Linked DNA regions of Homo sapiens: region 1 is linked to region 2. Evidence: promoter capture Hi-C in human tissues and cell types (Jung and others, 2019). All regions are on one chromosome and are shown on one strand. Each heading gives the region's core, a stretch centred on a gene start or on the middle of the fragment in contact. The rest is flanking DNA. Distances are from core to core; before and after follow the strand shown. Region 1 overlaps HORMAD2-AS1 (HORMAD2 and MTMR3 antisense RNA 1). Region 2 holds the start of HORMAD2 (HORMA domain containing 2).

Region 1 (5,025 bases), core at 1,605-4,104, 43 kb after region 2:
TTGATTTTCTATAGTGTAATCAATCATAGGATCATTAGCCCCCCTGGTGTCTGCTGCAAATTTATCTTAAATGCCAATTTGTCCCTGCATTAGAAGGGAAGCTGTTTAGTTGAGGGAGCTCTTCCTGAGAAACGGTGAATTTTATGTTATTTTTTATTTTTTTGAGACAGAGTTTTACTCTTGTTGCCCAGGTTGGAGTGCAATGGTGCAATCTCTGCTCACTACAACCTCCGCTTCCCAGGTTCAAGCAATTCTCCCGCCTCAGCCGCCCAAGTAGCTGGGACTACAGGTGCCTGCCACCATGCCCGGCTAATTTTTGTATTTTTAGTAGGGATGGGGTTTCACCATGTTGGTCAGGCTGGTCTTGAACTCCTGACCCCAGGTGATCCACCCACCTCAGCCTCCCAAAATGCTGGGATTATAGGCATGAGCCACCATGCCCGGCTGAAACAGTTAATTTTAGTGAGCAGCTGATTCCTTTTTTTTTTTTTTTTTTTTTGAGACAGAGTCTTGCTCTGTCGCCCAGGCTGGAGTGCAGTGGCTCGATCTCGGCTCACAGCAAGCTCCGCCCCACGGGTTCACACCTTTCTCCTGCCTCAGCCTTCCGAGTAGCTGGGACTACAGGCGCCCGCCACCACGCCCGGCTAATGTTTTGTATTTTAGTAGAGACGGGGTTTCACCATGTCAGCCAGGATGGTCTCGATCTCCTGACCTCATGATCTGCCTGCCTCGGCCTCCCAAAGTGCTGGGATTACAGGCATGAGCCACCGCGCCCGGCCCCTGATTGATTCTTGCATTGGTGATTGCTTCATGCATGACTTACTGAGTTTTGGAAAGAAACAGTCCTGTGTAAAGCCAATGAAACAGCACTAGTACTTTAACATTCAGTGTTCTTTGGAGTTGCTCTTGAACCCTTCTCTGCCCTGGTTTAGGCCTTTTTCATGCAGGTGGCCTCTTACTGCTCTTTCCACCTCATCTTGCCTCGCCTCCCAGCACCCACTTCCATTCATCCTGGGCCCAGGAGAGACTGGGTAGCGCAGCGGTTGAGAGCGTGATTTCAGGAGGCAGAGGGGCCAGATTCAAACCATGGCTCAGCTGCTTCAACTTTCTGGGTGACCTTGGGCAAGGGGCTTAACAGCTCTACTGGCTCAGTCATCTTAGTTTCAAATGAGGCTGTCACAGTACCTCACCAGGTTAATAGGAGAATTAAATGTGTTACTCATGGAAAGTATTTGGACAGTGCCTAGCCCATAACAAATATTAACTATTATCATCTTGTTCCATTCTCTGTTCAGAAACCTCAAATACCTATAGAATTGGGACCAGTGTTTGGCCTGACATAGGAGACTTTTTTGGCCTAAGCTTTTAACAAATATTTCCTGCCTTTCCTGTTCGCTAACCCATGCCCTCTGGCTCAGATCCTGAAACCCGCCCACTTGCCTTGGCTCACCTTGACGTCATCATATTGCCATGTGTTGATGTCACTGCTATCCCCCAAGGGGCAGGCTCCCTGCTCAGATGTACATGTACTCTCTTCTTCCTCTGAGCTATAACTCCAACTAGTCAGTATCCAAGTTCCTGTAGCCACTAGTTGTGGAGAAAGCTAAAGTCATCAGACATGAAGAGTATTCTCTACACAACTCAACCACTTAGAAAAATCACTCTCCACTTAAACATCTCTTCCTCCTTAACATACTCTCCATCCACCATAGCCCAACTTCCCTGTTACGGATTGTGAGATGTTGAAAATACAACAAAACAGGCACCAAAGTACAATTTAAGTTTTGTAAAATATGCAGAATTTCACATAGTTGGTGAATGTGTTGGCAAACTGCTCAGATGAGTGTAGCCATTGGAAATAAGGATCGCAGAGAGTAGGTCCATTAACAAATGAAGGGGAAGGTGACATGTCTAACCAATTAGGTGTTTCCTAGGGGGATGATGTGAATATCAAAGACTAAAGGATTTAAGAGGGAAATTGAGGAAGCCCTTGACTAACTTTTCCTAAAATGATCCTGTGATTGATTACACTAGAAAATCAAACATGAAATAATGTCCTATTGTGCAATCATATAATTTGGGGAGGGAAATACACCTAAAATATTATTTTTAAGAATTAGCCTGGTCGGGAGTGGTGGCTCACGCCTGTAATCCCAGCACTTTGGGAGGTCAAGGCAGGTGGATCACTTAAGGTCAGAAGTTTGAGACCAGCCAAGCCAACATGGCAAAACCCCACCTCTACTAAAACTACAAAAATTAGCTGGGTGTACTGGTGCATGCCTATAATCCCTGCTACTCAGGAAGCTGAGGCACGAGAATCTCTTGAACCCAGGAGGCGGAGGTTGTAGTGAGCCAAGATCGTGCCACTGCACTCCAGCCTGGGCAACAGAGCGAGACTGACCCTCTCTCAATAACGACAACAACAACAAAGAATTAGCCTATAGTTGCAATTACCTTTTGTTAAAACATACTTTTAAACAAAACAGTGGGAGATACTGGTTAAAGGATAAATTTCAGTTAAATAGGATTAGGTTAAAGAGCTCTATTGCACCACAAGGTGACTTAGTTAATAACAATGCATTGTATTCTTGAAAATCTCTAAGAGGGTAGATTTTAAGTGTCTCTCATCACAAAAAAATAAGTATGTGAGGTAACGCATATGTTAATTAGATCGATTTAAACCATTACACAATGTATACATATTTCAAAACATACTGTATATTATATATAATTTTGTCGATTCAAAAAAGATACTTATTTCAATAATAGTTTCATTTTACAAGATTAAATTCGGATCAAACCTTTTTCACTATGTGCTGTATGAAACACTGGTCTCCATTTTCAATGGGTTGCCTCTAAGAGGCTTTTTCAGGTCCTGTTCTTTTTGGATGAGGGTATGAATATATTTATCTGCCTGATCATCTTCCCTAACAGGCAGCATATTCTTGAGAGCAAACAGTGCCTGAGACAGAAGTCCCATGTCATCTCATGGAATGGTAGGGGTGGGGACATGTGTGAGTCACCAGTGAAGCCTGCACAGAGACTTAGCCTTCAATGACTTACTACATGAAGGCGCCACAGAGCATATCCAGAGCTGTCAGAAGCCAAGACTCTCTGTGCATGCATTGGTTAGGGTCCTCAGCAATGAGGGGTGACAGAGTACCGAGGCAGAACAGGGCAGAGGGTTCCTGAACAGACAGCCAGGCCCTTGTTCTCAGCTTGATCTGGGCTTTTCAGGCATCAGCAGGGCCCTCTGAGGGCATGAGGTGCCTTGGAGGGCAGCAGGGTGACCCGGAAGACATGTGACTGGCAAGGGTGTTCTGGTAGGCCCAGGTAAGGAGAGGCAGAGCCCCTCTGCCCTTGCCTAGGGCAGCACACAGAAACCATGCCCAGTGGCTTTGGGTGCTCTAGCTCATTCCTGTCCAACCAGGGTCAAAGCTTCCTACGACGGAGTGTCATAAATAGACTGACGATGGGGCTTCCCCCAGTCCCAGGAAGGGTTGGTGGGGTGTCGGAATTCAATTACAATATGAAAATAAGAGGTGAACTTCCTACTTGGGGTTGAAGGATAGGAGGGCAAACTTGGCATCGGCGTTCACCCCTGCACTAGGTGCTGACTGCATCCTGCAACAGAGGATAAAAGCGAAGAGCAGACGTCGTGGCCTCTCAGTTCAGGGGAAGCCCCGAGGCATCTCTGGCTGACAAGGCTGAGCTCAGTTTTCAGGCCCAGAACTAGTCCCCAGGTTAATGCCATCGAACTGCGTGGGGGTGCAGGTGAAGCATGGCCACATAGACACGTCCAGATGGGGACACCTGATGCTCTCGCAGTCTCCCCAGGTGCCTGAAGGAGGCCTCTAGAGACTTAGAACTGTGGTATATAACAGGCCTCCATTTTCAGCACTTTAATTTCTGCATGTCCAAGGAAGCATGCGTGGAAGGAGGGCAGAGAGCTGAGCCTCAGAGCAGTAATGCCAAGGAAGTAGGTGAGAGGGCTGCCTGCAAAGTCTCACAGGCCAACTACAGAGGCAGAAGAACTGGCAGGAGGGTTAGCAAGGTGGCAGGTTGCAGAATGGTTGCAAGAAAGAATGCTTTGGAGTGGGTCTAGAGTGTGTGGCTAGTCCTTGGGGACACCCAGTGTTGGGGTGGTGGGGGGCAGCAGAAGCAGGAGGAAGAGGAAGGGGTGGTGGAGCAAAGACGATATAGAGCTGGCCACTCTTTCTATTCGTTTCACAGTGAAGGGAAGGAGCAAGACAGGATACTTGCTGGAGGCAGAGACTTGAAAGAATTTGCTCTGACTTGAAAGAATTTGCTTTGCAGGCTGGAGGACTGGACAGCTTTAGGGATAGAGGAAGGAGCCAGCCAAACAAGGTTGAAAGAAAAAGGCTAAGGCCATGGTGGATGTGGGACAAAGCCCTAGACCATCTATTCTGGCTGTCATTTTGTCACTTACTGAACCATTTCTGTTCTCTAACTCCAAAAGTGTGAGAATTTCTGGCAGAAGAATCTACACCACGGTTTACTCTGTAACAGACAACAAAAACAAGTAAAGCTTTGTTGCAGAGTATTTTTAAAAAACAAAACCAAGACAACTCACTAAAGGTGGTGAGTCAGTTACCTCTAGCAAGTGGGAATTTCACTTGTAATTGTGTACACTTTTTTTTTTTCTGGAGACGGTGTCTTGCTCCGTCAACCAGGCTGGAGTGCAGTAACGCGACCTTGGCTCACTGCAACCTCTGCCTCCCAGGTTCAAAAGATTCTCCTGCCTCAGCCTCCCGAGTAGCTGGAACTATAGGCGCGTGCCACCAGGCCCGGCTAAGTTTTTGTAAAGATAGGGTTTCGCCATGTTGGCCAGGCTGGTCTTAAATTCCTGACCTCAAGTGATCCGCCTCCCTTGGCCTCCCAAAGTGCTGGGATTACAGGCGTGAGCCACTGTGCCCGGCATTGTGTATATTTTTATGTTAATGAACAGTATATTTTAAAATGCAAAATACAATTGGAAAATTCTATAGTAGAACCTTTTGTGTA
Region 2 (5,487 bases), core at 2,940-5,439:
AAGTAAAAAATAAAAAAAATTAAAAACCTAACTTAACTAACTAAATATTTGCTGAGTCAACAGAGAAGAACTATAGGAACAAGGAATAATTAAGAGTCTAGAAAAATACCACAAAATTTTAAAGGTAGAAGAAACTTTAAATATCATTGCTATGGTTTGAATGTGTATCCCAAAGTTCATATTTTGGAAGCTTAATCCTCAATGCAAGTGTTGAGAGTTGGGGCCTTTAAGAGGTGATTAGGTGCCTTCATGAATGGATTAATATTGTTACCCCAGGAGCAGGTTCATTATCAGGAGAGTGGATTTGTTATAAAAGCAAGTTTGGCACACTCACTCTCTCTCTCCTTGCTCTCTCTGTCTTACCAGGTGATGCCTTCCTCCATGTTATGACACAGCAAGAAGGTCCTTACAAGATGCATATCCTTGTTCTTGGACTTCCCAGCCTCCAGAATCATAAGCCAATACATGTCTGCTCTTTTTAGTTACCCAGCCTCAGGTATTGTTACAGCAGTACAAACTGGACTAAGACAGTAATTTAGTCCAAATATCTAATTTTCTAGATGGGGAATTCAAAATCTAGACTTACCCGGGATTAGTCAGCCACTCAGTAACAGAACTGAGACTAAAACTCAACAAGTCTGGCTCACAATTTAAAAGTTTTTCCAGACTGACTCTCCAAAATGAAATTCTCCTTTGCTTTCATTCTATCTAATATGATGTACTACCAGGGCCTCCTTAGTTCTTCGGCTTGCCTACTTATTTCTAAACATGGGAGGGTCTCTTTCTAGTGTTCTAGCATGAGCTTGCTTCAGGAAGGCAAAAAGATCTAAATTATTTTTTCAAAAAACATGGTGAAACTTCGTCTCTACTAAAACTGGGCATGGTGGTGGGTGCCTGTAATCCCAGCTACTTGAGAGGCTGAGGCAGGAGAATTGCTTGAACCCGGGAGGTGGAGGTTGCAGTGAGCCGAGATTGCACCATTGCACTCCAGCCTGGGCAACAAGAGTGAAACTCCGTCTCAAAAAAAAAGCCAGACTCCTTTCAGCCTCTAATTATTCTGTTGCTACTGTTTTCCCTTTGAGCAGGTGTTTTGTGGAGGTCTTCTATTTAAGTACAAACCCTGCTTAATTTTAAAAGCTCACAAGTTCACAGGAGGTATGACTCTAGAGAGCATGCATTCTCAGAGAATAGGTCTGATTTTTTCTATGTGTTATCCCTTTGTTCAGGCTCATTATCTAAAAACCTAGAAGAGATTTCATAACTATGGATTTTAAGAACTGAAAGCTAACTTTGCAATGTCATTCTCTTATATATTTGTTTGCAAATTAGATCCACACATATTTGAAACTTCACAGTTCATCAATACCATTCCCTCTTCTGTTTTTGAGACAAGGTCTTACTCTGTTTACCCAGGCAGGAATGCAGTGGCGCAATCTTGGCTCACTGCAACCTCGACCTCCTGGGCTCAAGTGATCCTCCCACCTCAGCCTCCTAAGTAGCTAGTACTAGAGGCCATGTGCCACCACACTCAGCAAATTTTATTTTTGGTAGAGATGAGGTCTCACTATGTTACCCAGGCTGGTTTTGAACTTCTGGGCTCAAGCAATACTCCTTTCTTAGCCTCCCAAAGTGCTGGGATTATAAGTGTGAGCCACTGCAACTGACCCTCACTCTTACATTTGATATGTCTACTTTGTGACAAGGATTATGATCTTCTTGAGAAAGAGGCAATATTTCTATGCTCTTTCTGGTAAAGATTCACTCTAGGCTTACCTCTTGACCTATATCTCAATTGCCCTATTTTTTTTGTTGTTGTGTATTCATTTTCTTTTCTTTTCTTTTCTTTTTTTTTTTTTTGAGACAGAGTAAAGTGCGGTGGCATGATCTGTCACCTAGGCTGGCATAATCACAGCTCATTGCAACCTCAAACTTCTGGGCTCAAGTGATCCTCCTATCTCAGCCTTCCAAGTAGCTGAGACTATATGCATGCACCACCATGCCCTGCTAATTTTTAAAAATTTTTTATTTTTGTAGAGTTGGGCGGGCGGGTGGAGGGGGAGGTCTCACTATGTTGCCCAGACTGGCCTCGAACTCTTGGCCTCTCAAAGTTTTGGGATTACACATATGAGACACCACACCACGCCTTCAATTGCCCTATTTTATATGGTGGCACAATTACTTCCTATTTTACCCCTACTATGTGTGAGTCCAAGATTCACATAAAGATTAGCCAGCTGCTGTTTAGTTTACTAAGGCCTAAACCACTTTTTTAACCATTCCAAGTGAAGCAAAAGCCAAAGTTTTATTACATTTTCCCAAATATAATCATAGTTGATTTATGAAGGCTCTCTACCCATCTTTCTCAATCTTCAAAAACCGTTTTTTACAAGAAAATCCCTTTTCTATCAGGTGAACACTATCCAATAGCTGGATTCTGAAATGTAACTATATTACCTTCCTTACACATGCATGTTGTTAAGAATGGCTTTACTCAAAAGAAGTGTACGTTAACATAAATGGGTTCAATAGATTCCTAAAGCTGGAAGGGAGCACAGACATCTTCCAACCCCTTTGATTTAAAGAAGATCCAATTCTGTGGAGGAAGAATCTTTTTTTCAGCAAATGATGCTGAAACAAAAGGACATCTGGAGGGTGGGGGGAAGAACAGAGAATTAAAAGAAACTTAACCTAAATCTCACACTGTATACAAATATTAATGCAAAATGGATCATGGATTTAAACCTAAACATAAAACTATAAAGAAAAGGGGCCAGGTGCAGTGGCTCACACCTGTAATCCCAGCACTCTGGGAGGCCGAGGTGGGAGGATCACGAGGTCAAGAGATCGAGACTATCCTGGCCAACATGGTGAAACCCTGTCTCTACTAAAAATAAAAAAAAATAAAAAAATTTAGCTGGGCGTGGTGGTGCACACCTGTAGTCCCAGCTACATGGGAGGCTGAGGCAGGGGAATCGCTTGAACCCGAGAGGTGGAGGTTGCAGTGAGCTGAGATTGCGTCACTGCACTCCAGCCTGGCACAGAGCTCGACTCCATCTCACAAAAAAAAAAGAAAAAAGAAAAGGAAAGTGAGGCTAAGCAAGGGAACTTGGTTTGCCAAAGTTCGCCCAATTACTTAGACCTTCCAACAGAGCTTGCTTCAATAAATTATTCACCATTTTAACAAATTCCATTTGGCCCTGGTAATTCCCCTACCTGTGCTCATTCAGAGAAAATGGCTTCCACTATATTAATTGAGTATTTGTTCATGCTCTTTTGACTTTTTAATATCTTTTTCATGCTATTTCAATTATTCATTCATTCAACATCTACGAGGCAACTACAATGTGCCAGGCAACAACATGCAGGATTACGAGATGTAAAATACTGTTCCTACCTCAACAGATTGATGGTCCAATGGAGGAGAAATTAGATTATGATCCTGCTGAGATTAAAAACCCCTTTAGGGGCCAGAACCACCCCTCATTTCTACCAGCTGAGTACACGATGTACTGCACAGCCTGTCCAGTGCCCTGCGTACTCGGACACATTTTGGCGATTGGCTAATCCTGAGGTTCAAGACTCTCTCCCTCTGTTTAGGGAACTAAAGTCCATAGGGATTAATTGGCAAATCCTCACTAAAGTGAAAGGGGAGCTGAGGTCAAGGGGGGCGGGGTGTCTTGTCCCCACCTCTCTCACCTCTTGGCCTGTACCAGGCATCGATCCTGGCAGAAAACCTCAATGGCTGGGGAGAATCTGACCCAGGTAAGATAAACTTCCCCAAAGCTCCACCACACACGGCCCCCTCCAATGTCGGGCACAGACATCGTCTGCCCTGCCAGCCTCATCATGGCTCATTATGGCTGCTGCTTGCTCAGCAAGTTTGATTTCATGTCCAGAAAAATCTGAATTTCAAAACTACCTGGGTGCTCTCTGTCCAGTTCTGGGGGAAATCGCCTCCCTTTTGCCTTCCTCCTCAGCCCCCTGCCCTCCCGATTCTCTTCACAGTACTTTAGGCCCTCACGAAATATGATACTTTCAAATCCAACTTAAAGCCTTAAGTAATAAGAAAAGAAAAAAAAATTGTTTTTTGACATAAAGACAGAACTAACAACGCCCGAGTGCCCTCTCTGGGCCGAGACCTCGCGTCTCAACAGCCCTCACCTCAGCTCGTCGACGCTTCCCTCCCACCGGGGGTCAACGGCCTTTTCCGGCCCAAACCCGCTCCTCGGCTCATGAATAGTCAACGAGGCCTTTCTGGGCGGGACCAGAGGTTTCCTCATGAATAATTCATGACCCGTCCACGGCTAGCCTGGGCGACCGGCCTCGCTAGACTTCATGAATATGCAAAGCAGGGGCGAACGGCGGCTAGCCGGCCCCTAGCCCGCCCGGCCCCTCAGCAGCCGCCTCTCAGCCACGGGCTGCACACTGACCCGACGCGACCTTCGGTCAGGGGCCGCCAGCCTGGGCCACCTATACAACGACAGCCTGCTCCGGGGCTTCCTGAGGAGGTGCCTGCCCCGCCGAGGTTAGGACCCGAGGGACCGTGGGGCTCGGGCGGGCCAGGACGCCAGGCCGGCGGGTCCCAGAGAGGTCTGAGGCGGGCGCGGGGCGGCGTAGGGGAGGGAAGCGAGAGCCTGGGGGGCCCAGGGACCCGAGTTAGAAGAAGGCCCGAGAAGTGCGGCGCGGTGGCTCCACCTGGGATCCCAGCACTCTGGGAGGCTGAGGCGGGCGCGTCACTTGAGGTCAGGAATTCGAGACCAGCCTGGCCAACATGTTGAAAACCCGTCTCTACAAAAAATACAAAAATTAGCTGGGCGTGGTGGCGCGCGCCTGTAGTCCCAGCTACTTGGGAAGCTGAGGCACGAGAATCGCTTGAGCCCAGGAGGCTGAGGTTGCAGTGAGCCGAGATTCCGCCATTGCACTCCAGCCTGGGCGACAGAGCGAGACTCCGTCTCAAAAAAATTTTAAAAAGTACAAAAATTAGCTGGGCCACCTGACGTGCGCCTGTAGTCCCAGCTGCTCGGGAGGCTGAGGTAGGAGGATCGCTTGAGCCGGGGAGTTTGAGGTTGCAGTGAGCCAAGATCGTACCATTGCACTCCAGCCTGGGCAACAGAGGGAGACCCTGTCTCAAAAATAAAAAAAAAGAAAAGAAAGAAAAAAGACATAAGGCCAGAAGGCCAGAGCTTTCCAATACTTGAGGGCATCTGCAACCTCTTCATCCCTACCCTGGACCTGACTTTGCATTCTTTTTAACATTAATTTGTAATTATGCAAATAAAACATAAATATATTCTCCTTTGTGCCCTACCCCTAATCTCAGTTTTTTCTGCCCTGGTAACTGTGGGAGCAGTTGGGGGTGTGGCTCCTTGGATCGTTTCTCACCTGTTTAGGTAGATATTTCGTATCCTGTGGTGCTTTCCAAAGGCTCCTGGAGTCCCATGAACCTCCCCAAGGGGATTTCCCAAGAGAGTAGATGAAAGAGTGAGC

What was found. The method cuts DNA at HindIII sites, captures the fragments that hold promoters and counts their contacts. A contact is called where the count stands out against the background at its distance.
Region 1: a fragment that was not itself captured here is called in contact with the fragment with the promoter of HORMAD2 in region 2 in 1 of the 25 tissues and cell types used here (pancreas).

What each region holds. Positions count from the first base shown.
Region 1 is chr22:30,034,839-30,039,863 of GRCh38, reverse strand. The region is part of intron 3 of HORMAD2-AS1 (HORMAD2 and MTMR3 antisense RNA 1); the gene reads left to right. Among named protein-coding and RNA genes, the nearest start is that of MIR6818, 30 kb to the right of the region's middle. The HindIII fragment of the contact is 4,617 bases long and covers 546-5,025 here.
Region 2 is chr22:30,079,166-30,084,652 of GRCh38, reverse strand. HORMAD2 (HORMA domain containing 2) reads right to left here and starts at 4,189. Exons shown (of 11, transcript NM_152510.4): 1 at 4,162-4,189. HORMAD2-AS1 (HORMAD2 and MTMR3 antisense RNA 1) reads left to right here and starts at 4,396. Exons shown (of 5, transcript NR_110541.2): 1 at 4,396-4,525. RefSeq lists enhancers at 4,119-4,198, 4,036-4,733 and a silencer at 4,539-4,588. The HindIII fragment of the contact is 22,926 bases long and covers 1-5,487 here.